Regions from separate parts of the Homo sapiens genome. Here region 2 is linked to region 1. Evidence: promoter capture Hi-C in human tissues and cell types (Jung and others, 2019). All regions are on one chromosome and are shown on one strand. Each heading gives the region's core, a stretch centred on a gene start or on the middle of the fragment in contact. The rest is flanking DNA. Distances are from core to core; before and after follow the strand shown. Region 1 holds the start of RASGEF1C (RasGEF domain family member 1C). Region 2 overlaps MAPK9 (mitogen-activated protein kinase 9).

Region 1 (4,570 bases), core at 938-3,437:
GGGTGAGCTGGGGAAAGACTGGCCTCACCACCCTGACCTGCACTTGGTTAGGAGGGCCGCTCAGTGCTGCCCAGACCCCAGAACAACACAGCTGAGTGGGTCAGCTCTTCTGAGGTGCCTCTTGCGGCCTCTCCTCCTAGACTCCTGGCTTCCTCCAGGCGACACCCTGGGACTGGACCTGAGGCTTAGGGGCATAGGGTGATAATCGGAGAAGATGCAGGGAGGGCCCAGTGCCTGCACCCTGAGGCGCATCTGTCTATCTGCTGGGAGCACACTGCTCACCCCTGACCAAGTGCCTGCCTCTGTTCCTCCTCCCTTTCCCCACACCTGACCCTTGGTCTCAGATGTCACCCTCCCTAGGGCCAGCCTCTGGCCCTGGCCCTGGCCCCAGCCCTGCTGTCTCCCTGCCTAGCTACCTGGCCCACATTCATTCTAATACATCTGTATGCCCTAGGCAGCTGCCTGCTCTCTCCAGGACTCAGTTTCCCTAACTGTTCAAGAAATGGGCTGGACTGTTGTTCTTAACCTGTCCATTCTTCCAGGAACAGCCTTCACGGAAGCTTGGAACAGCACCTTACTCCATCCTCAAAGCTGACACAGGACTAACTCTGCCTCAGCTCTAGTGAGACGACACCCAGGCCTGCTATTCCTGCTCCCTAGGTCTTTGGAAATGGCCTGAGCTCAGCTCCTCGGAGCCTGTGTGTGGCAGCCGCAGGCTGTCCTTGCAACTATCAGGCAGCTGTGCCCTCTCTGAGGTGTCAACCCAGGGCCATTCTGCCACAGAAAGACTGGGAGATAGGGGAGGCCAGTTTCTATGCACATAGGTTAAGTACCTGGATCTAGCCATTCCTCTAAGCAGTAAACCTTGGCTTTTTATGATCCACAAACCAGCTTTTTGCTCAAGCTGGTTGGGTTGAGTTTTGGGCCACATCTCATCAGGCAGGTCCTGACTAAAGCAGAGTGAGGTGAAGGCAGCTGGAACTTCCGTGTCGGGTGGGGACTTGGAGAACTTTTCTGGCTAGCTAGAGGATTGTAAATGCACCAATCAGCACTCTGTAAAAACGCACCAATCAGCACTCCGTGAAACGGACCAATCAGCAGGACATGGGTGGGGACAAATAAGGGAATAAAAGCTGCCCGCCCACCCCTCGCCAGCCAGCAACAGCGGCGACCGGCTGTGGTCTTTTTCCCTGCTGTGGAAGCTTTGTTCTCTTGCTCTTCACAAGACATTTTGCTGCTACGCACTCTTTGGGTCTGCACCACCTTTTTCTTTTCTTTTCTTTTTTTTTTTTTTTGAGATGGAGTCTTGCTCTGTCGCCCAGGCTACAGTGCAGTGGTGCAATCTCTGCTCACTGCAAGCTCCACCTCCCCGGGTTCACGCCCTTCTCCTGCCTCAGCCTCCCGAATAGCTGGGACCACAAGCGCCCACCACCAAACCTGGCTAATTTTTTTGTATTTTTAGTACAGACAGGGTTTCACCGTCGCACCACCTTTAAGAGCTGTAACACTCACTGCCAAGGTCCCTGGCTCATTCTTGAAGTCAGCCAGACCAGGAACCCAGCGGAAGGGACAAACTGCGGACACAGGAGGACAGGTGTCCTGACCTCTATGCTGGGACCAACCAGGGAACTTTTCACTGAAGACCCAGTTCAAGGAGGCCACTGGATCCTGTTAGAGCCCCTCTCCCTTTCTAAAAGTGAAATCATGCATCGCCATCCTCCCAGAACCCCGGTGTCTTCAAAGTGGTGTCCACCCTCCCTGGGGGCCACGGGAGAGCGCCGAGAAGGTTGGGGAGGGGGGGTGTCCACCCAGGGATGTCCCATTGGGGGACACAGACAACCTAGGTGGCCAGTCCAGAGAACCGGGCCGGGCCCAGTCTTGAGGAGAGAGGGTGAACTGGGTTTTGGGGCGCCAGAGGCCCACCAGGTGAGGTGTAGGCTGGGGCAGCTGGGGCGCAGAGTCCGCCAGGGTCCGCGCGCGGGAGGGCAGCGTCTGACGGCCCGAGCGGGTGGTCCTGGCGCGGGGGGCCAGCCGCCGCGGAGGCCTGAACGCAGGGCGGGACGCTTGGCTCCGCGGCCGGGGCACGGAGGGCCCTGGTGTGCAGCGCCGCCCGCGGGCTCCCGCAGCTCCACCCCCGCGCCCCGCCCGCTCCGCGCTGCCTGAGTGCCACGAGGGGGCGCAGCGCCGCGTTGCTCCGGGGCCGCCGCCAGGCGCTCGTGCGGGCTGCGCTGGGAGCCGGGCGGTCGGGCGGCGGCGGCGGCGGCGGCGGCGGCGGCGGCGGCGGCGGGCGGCGCCCCGGTCCGCGGCGCCGAGGCTCGCACCGGGAGCTGCCCATGGGCCGGGCCCGGAGTTCCGGCGCGCCGGGAGCCGGTGAGTGGTGCGCGGCCGAGGGACACCTGGCGGTGCGGGCAAGGGCGCGGGCTCGCGGGGGCTGGGGAGGGCTGCCGGCGGCGCGGCGGGGTCGGCGGGAGGCGGGAGGCTGCGCGCGGCGCGGGAGCGTGCGCCGGGGTCAGCAGGGGCGGGGTCCGCGCGGCCGCCGGGACTGGAGGCGCGGGGGTAGCGGGTAGGGTACCCTGAGGGCACACCCCCGGCCACCTGGCGGGAGACCCAGCTCTGCCGCGCGCCGCCAGCCCCTGCTGGGCGCGAGGAGCAAGCTTCTTTCAGCCGCTAGAGTGGCAGGAAGAGCCAGCCTAGACCAAAGCCTCCACCCGCACCGGACCTCAGTTTCCCCGTCTATGAAATGGGGACGGGAAAGCAGACCTGCCGGTGCACGTGCAGAAGGGAAAGGGCCTTGCGCCTGGGGGAAGAGGGTGCTGTCACCCTTGAGGATGGGATCGGATTTGAGGAAAGGACCAGCGCCACTATCAGAGGGCCTGCGAGAACAGTGGGGTCTGCTGGGAGTCCTGGGTGTGTCCCTCACGCAGTGACAGCGGACGGCATCAAGGGACCACCTGGTCCACTCATTGTATTTAGATTGGGAAAGCGATGCTTGGGGGGACTTGGGGAAGGGTGCTGGCGACGCCGCCCCATGCTCAGCGTGGGCGTGGGAAACTGTGGGAAAGACAGAGCTGGGAAGTTGGGGTGCTGGTGGAGCTCTTCCGGGCCCGTATCTCCTGCCTCCTGGGGCTGTGGGAGAGACAGAAGTTCTGAGCCCCGGGAGCCTGAGAAGAGTCCTGGGAAGCTCTGCCTGCCAGGCAGGTGGAGTAACTGAGGTTTAGAGAGGGGCGGGACCATGGAGTGGCAACGCTGGGGTCCCACCTCTGGTAAGACTGGCTCCAACAGCCATAGTGCAGCCACTGTGCAGGCGACCGGTGGAGGGGGGCTAGGGTTGTCCACTCACTGGCCACATTCATTGAGCGCCTACTGTGTGCCGCCTGCTGCCTGCCCCCGTAAGTGCTCACTAGCTGGTGTGGGAGGGGACACCAAACAAGAAATCAAAGGCAAAAGCAAGGACATGGCCAAGATCTTATGCGTGCTGGGAAGAACATGCAGTAGGGTGACTGGGGCAGAGGGAGACCAGGGCGCGGCGGAGCCTTCGTCTGGTCAGGGAGGCTGTCCTGAGCGGGGAGCCCAGCCTGTGATGGACGGGTAGCCCGGGGGAACAGCGCGGGTGAGATCCCTGAGGGCAGGAGGGGGCGGAGCTGGAGCTGAGACGCTACAGGGTCTGGACGTCCTGGGCAGCCCCCAGGCGGTTTGCAGGTTGGGCGTCGAAAGGCTGCCCGTGGCGGCGGGTGGGCGCACTGCCGGGGCAGGAGAGGGAGGGCAGGCGAGAGAGGGACGGGCTGCGGAGCCCAGGGCGGGACTGGCGAGGGGGAGCCCGCAGGCCACCAGGTAGAGGTGGGGCCCTGCCCGGGACCTGGCCCTTTTCAGGCCGGGGTCTGCACCCTCCTGCCATGTCCCCGCCAGTCTCTGAGGTGGTTCCAGCTCTCACTTGTACCTGGACCCAGATCCAGAGTCAGCCATTTGTCCAAGGGGCCTTGGTTCCTTGCGTGGGACCCGGGCTTAGTGTGGGGCGTGCACTCGCCGCCTCTAGGCCTTGTCAGTGGACCAAGCCAAGGCCCCTTTTTTACTAAAAATTAATATTTCCTTTCCCTTTCTCCTGCAGTGAGAACCTTATTCCCCCAAACATGAATATATTTCATCATTTACTTAGCTCCACAATGCACCCCGAAAGAGTTTCAGAATGACTGCATCCACACCGAAGCCAACCAAAACCTGCTAGGTCAGCATCGGGATTTCCACGGGTGTGCAGGCAGAGTGCTGTGTGGTGACGTTATCAGTCGGACACACTGTTAGCTTCGTGTGTTTCTACTTGCATTCAATTTGGAGCTTTTTTTCCTTTAGACTTTAGGATGTAATTTTATTTTTTGAATACGTAAAACACATGGTTTAAAGGTCAGAACTATTAAAAAGCTATCCTTAAAGGTCTCAGTCCCACCCCTGCATCTTCTTCCTTGTTCCCACACCATTGGGAGCCATTTAAAATATTTTCTGGTTTATCCTTCCTGTGTCTCTTTCTGCAAAACAAGTCATTTAAGCATTATCACAAAAGTTAGCCGTACAGCTCCTG
Region 2 (4,616 bases), core at 1,497-3,996, 38 kb before region 1:
CTGACAGACAGCATGAGGACCTTAGCAAGAGAGAGTCAGAGTATTGGGGAACTCAAGTCCAGGCGTGGAGAGCAGGAGGGGGCCGTGTGTGCTGGACTGACAGCATGAGGACCTTAGCAAGAGAGAGTCAGAGTATTGGGGAACTCAAGTCCAGGCGTGGAGAGCGGGAGGGGGGCATGTGTGCTGGACGTGTAGATGCATGGATGGAGGGTAGATAGGACAGCCTGAGGGCCTGCGAGACCACAGAAAGGGCAAATGGGGGCCATGAAGGTTTCCACTGGGGGTAAGGGGCACCATCTGACGGCTTTAGGCTGATTTGTTTTAGTTTCAATTTGAGAGTAAGATTTTCCAAAGTTGTTCCCAAATCTCAGAGTTCAGTTCACTCCCTACACTCTCACACTGGCTTCACGACCCTCACGGATGTGAAGTAGTTTATTTAGCATGCTTCATTCATTTTACTAATTTAAGCCATTTCTTTCCTAGGATTTGAAGCCTAGCAACATTGTTGTGAAATCAGACTGCACCCTGAAGATCCTTGACTTTGGCCTGGCCCGGACAGCGTGCACTAACTTCATGATGACCCCTTACGTGGTGACACGGTACTACCGGGCGCCCGAAGTCATCCTGGGTATGGGCTACAAAGAGAACGGTGAGTATAGCCGGGGCTGGAAGAGGCTGGGATGTTTAGAAATTGCTCTAGCGGTGGTCTCGAGTTTTTTCTCTTTCCTTTGAACCATATGATATATACTGTGGGGACTGTTACACCCAGAATATAGCATGATCCAGAGATAAGAAATAATTAATTGTGTTTTTCCATTGGTTAAAATCATTCTCTTTTAAAAATTCACTTTTAAAATTGTTATTTTTGAACTTTTTAATCAGAGTTAAGCTGTCTATAGCCAAGTGTGCAAATCCTGAGTGTGCAGCTCAGCTGAGGTGAGCACACCCACAGCAGCAGCAGCTCTGGCCTCCCCATGGCCCCTCCTCGCAGCCCACGAGGCTGGCCAATCTCCTGATCTCCAGTACCATGGATCAGCTTTATTTGTTGGTCTGCATATTGTTTTTTTGAATTTGATGTAAATAGAATAACACATGTTTTCATGTAAAATTGGTGTCTTTTTACATCAAAACTTAGCTTATTCTAGCAATATCAGAGCTCTTTGAAACTTGGCTTTTAGCAAATTTGTTGAAAATAACGAAATCACGCTTACTTATTTTTAAAAAGACTGAAAGTTTGCCCGGGTCATCTGAAATGAGTTTTGCTACAGGTTCATCTTGCTGCGTTGTAGCTTGTGTTCCCACCCTGAGGGGCACAGCTTCATGTGCTTCCTGTGGAGGGGAGAGAAAACTTGATCCCCTGTTCACTTCTCCCCTCGGCCCGCCAGCAGGGCACTTAGAGGCCTCTGCTGTCTGTCTGAGGCCCCACAGATGAGGGTGGGCACCGTGGAAGTCTGGGCCCCTCTAGCAGGGCCTCACCTGCAGTCCTGCAAGCCAGCCAGCCTGTGCCGCCAGTGAGTGCTGCTGCCTTTCTGACGGGGCAGTCTAGAAAATGATCGCTCAGGAGGTGTGGTATCAACAACGCACAGAGGCTCCCGCCGGCAAGCTAGTGACGTGTACCGGGTTTGTCCTGGGAGGGGGTTTGAAGAAAAAAGATGGGGGACTCTAGCTGGTTTTTAATCCCCTGGTGTTTGGTAGTGGACATCTGGTCTGTCGGGTGCATCATGGCAGAAATGGTCCTCCATAAAGTCCTGTTCCCGGGAAGAGACTGTATCCTTCACAGGGGACCCGGTACTTGGCCATGGAGGCTGGGGTGGGCGTGTGGCCCTGAAAAGCTTTGTGTTCACAGGCACTTCTTGTTTCTGGTTTTTTGTTTGTTTGTTTGTTTGTTTTAAGCTATAAAGTATTGGACTCTTTGGCACTAAAACCCCAGATTGCTACAAACCGAAGGCTAAAATAGAGGTCAGCAATCATTCATATTGTGTAAAATGTCACCCTTAGCTAGCAATTTATTTTTCCATATTTGTGTGTTTAGTGCACTGTTAGAATTCCTTTTCCTCACTTTTGTTTTGTTCATGGCACTTCATAATTTTATCATTTCATTTTATTTTCAGTTGATATCTGGTCAGTGGGTTGCATCATGGGAGAGCTGGTGAAAGGTTGTGTGATATTCCAAGGCACTGACCGTATCCTTCCCCGCGACCTTGGCCCCGCCATGCTTTCTTAATGCCTCAGGCAGCATGACCACCTGCTTACACGAGCGCTCACGAGGACAAAGTCGTAAAATCCACTCCAGACTGTGTTCTAAGGGGGGCTTTACTGTATTTGTTAATTAGTGTCACAAGCCAAGTGGTTCAATTTCATTCTTTATTTTTAACTTGACTACCTGTGATGACTTTGAGACTTAGAGTTCAGTTAAACCGATTATATTAGCTCTTAATTTTGCCAAAAATAGCTGGACACATAGAAGAAATTATTTACTCTTTGATAAGTATATTCTGATATTTAAATGAAAATACTGTATTATTTAGTTTATTCCGTTAATTTAACTAGGAAAGATGCTATCTAAATTTAATAGGCTAGTGTGCTTGTGTGCTTTAATTAAGTACTATTTTGTTAGTTACTGGTATGCATTGAAATATTTTCCCCCAAAGTAAGAACTGAAGCACATTACAAAGGACCTAAGTGAAAGAGATTAAAATGAAAATTTTGTGAGGAACAATATGTTAAACTTTCTTGTTTGTTACTGTGCTGACATTTTGTAGAATTTTTTTTAAAAATCTGTCTAGTGGGTTATTTTGTGACACACTGGGGAAGTCAAAATAAATGTAAAATGAAAGAGATAAACTCATACTGTAGTCAGCAAGTCATGTTAGAGATACAGCAGAAAGGAGAATAACTACTCTAATTGTTACAATAGCCTTCTTTCCTCATTTGCCATTCTTCCATCCTCAGTATTTTTTACCCTAACATGGTTCTTCACATCTTCCCTTTTTCATTTGTGTTTTAACCACTTAGTTTTTCATTAGTCTTTGACTTTGTTTTCGTTATGAAAGTTTAAATTGGTCTCCATCCTTGGGCAGATTGATGGTTGCTTTTAAGGAAATCAAGCTCCATAGTCAGTGTTTTGTATGTATCTTAGGAAAATAATTTCAGATTTTAATAATTTTATCAAAGTGGTCTCCTTATAAATTCTTCACAGTGCAAACTTAAAGTGAAAATATTTTTATTTCTCTCATTTTATTTACCTTTCTTTACATTTTCTATATCATAGATTATATAATATGTCAAGTTATTTTATTTGTTCTACTAAATTTTCTAGCAGTTTCCATAGCCTCATCTCAGATTCACTTGTTGCAACCTATAAATAAGGACGTCTTTATTTTGCAAGTAAACTTAATTAAAAAGGGAAAAGTTGAAAAATTAAAAGACTAATAATTTAGAAATATCTACTTAATGTTCAGTTTGTCTCAATTCTTACTCATTTTGTGCCATTCCTTGTTTTATTACAAAATGTTTTCTTCAAAAAGTACAAAAATGAAAAATGTGAGTACTTTTTGGTGCATTTTAGTAAGTAAAATTAAAATTCCTGCTATACATATGAACATTAATGTCAGTAATTAATAGTGTTATATATAAGGTTACCTAATGTTATTCCCAAAAGCCACACAGAGTTTAACATCATTTTCTAAAGAAAATTTTGCCAACTCTTTCAAATATTAGATTGAAATTTGGGAGATAGAAAAAAGTTGCAGAAATCAGACTGAGGGTCTCAGAGATTTGCTTTAATTTGCGACCCAGGGTAGAAAAGGAACTCCTGTCCCTGCGGTGGTCTATGAGAAAGAGAAAGCTTTAGCCCGGCCACCTCGGGCCCCAGCTCAGACTCCTCCCCTTGGCAGCCATGCATCCTTGAGAAATTTAGGGCCTCTCTGAGCCTTGGTTTCCCCTTCTGTAAAATAGACCTGTGGTCTGCCTGCAGCTTCACGAGAGTTAGACAACAGGGTCCACTGGGCTTGTCGGAATTATTGTTCCCCTTCCCCCGTCCCTCTCATCTGTCCCCCATCCCTCCCACCTGTAGGATGCTGGGGTGGAGTCCTCTCGGGGAATCTGTGGGTCTCCTCTCACAACTGGTTTAATTTCTAGTCCTTTATCATTAACCCAGCAGATATTTCTCTCACCTGCCCATTTCTGGGTGCCTAGTCTGACTGAGATGCAAAGAGGCTCCTCCCAGCTGCTGAATTGAGGGTGGATCGTCAAGGGCAGGGCAGAGCAGGAGAACAGAGCAGAGGCTGCCATCATCCAGAGGAGAGGTGGAGGCCCCCAGCAGGCGGGTAGGGGTGTGGCCGGGGAGATGGGCTTGTACTCTGCTTTGAAGCTGGACCCTTCAAGGAGCCTTGCTAGGGTTTGGAGATGTCTGTTAGACAGTGGAATTTAGGGGCAAGGTCTGGGATAGAGAGATCAAAGTGGGTGTCATCCGTCTGTCGGTAGCCTTGAAGCCTAGGACTGGTAGCGAGCACTTGCAGGGGAGGAAGAGACCAGGACCCGGGACTTAGCCCCCTTGAGGTGGAGGGACAAAGGGAATAGGGAAGGAAATGGAGAAGGCACTCACGTGACCCCTC

The links. The method cuts DNA at HindIII sites, captures the fragments that hold promoters and counts their contacts. A contact is called where the count stands out against the background at its distance.
Region 2: a fragment that was not itself captured here is called in contact with the fragment with the promoter of RASGEF1C in region 1 in 1 of the 25 tissues and cell types used here (dorsolateral prefrontal cortex).

Annotation. Positions count from the first base shown.
Region 1 is chr5:180,206,828-180,211,397 of GRCh38, reverse strand. It overlaps RASGEF1C (RasGEF domain family member 1C), which reads left to right and starts at 2,187. Exons shown (of 14, transcript NM_175062.4): 1 at 2,187-2,370. RefSeq lists a silencer at 2,052-2,271 and an enhancer at 3,396-4,188. The HindIII fragment of the contact is 4,624 bases long and covers 882-4,570 here.
Region 2 is chr5:180,245,006-180,249,621 of GRCh38, reverse strand. It overlaps MAPK9 (mitogen-activated protein kinase 9), which reads left to right. Exons shown (of 12, transcript NM_002752.5): 6 at 484-649; 7 at 2,112-2,183. Among named protein-coding and RNA genes, the nearest start is that of RASGEF1C, 38 kb to the right of the region's middle. The HindIII fragment of the contact is 5,555 bases long and covers 1-4,616 here.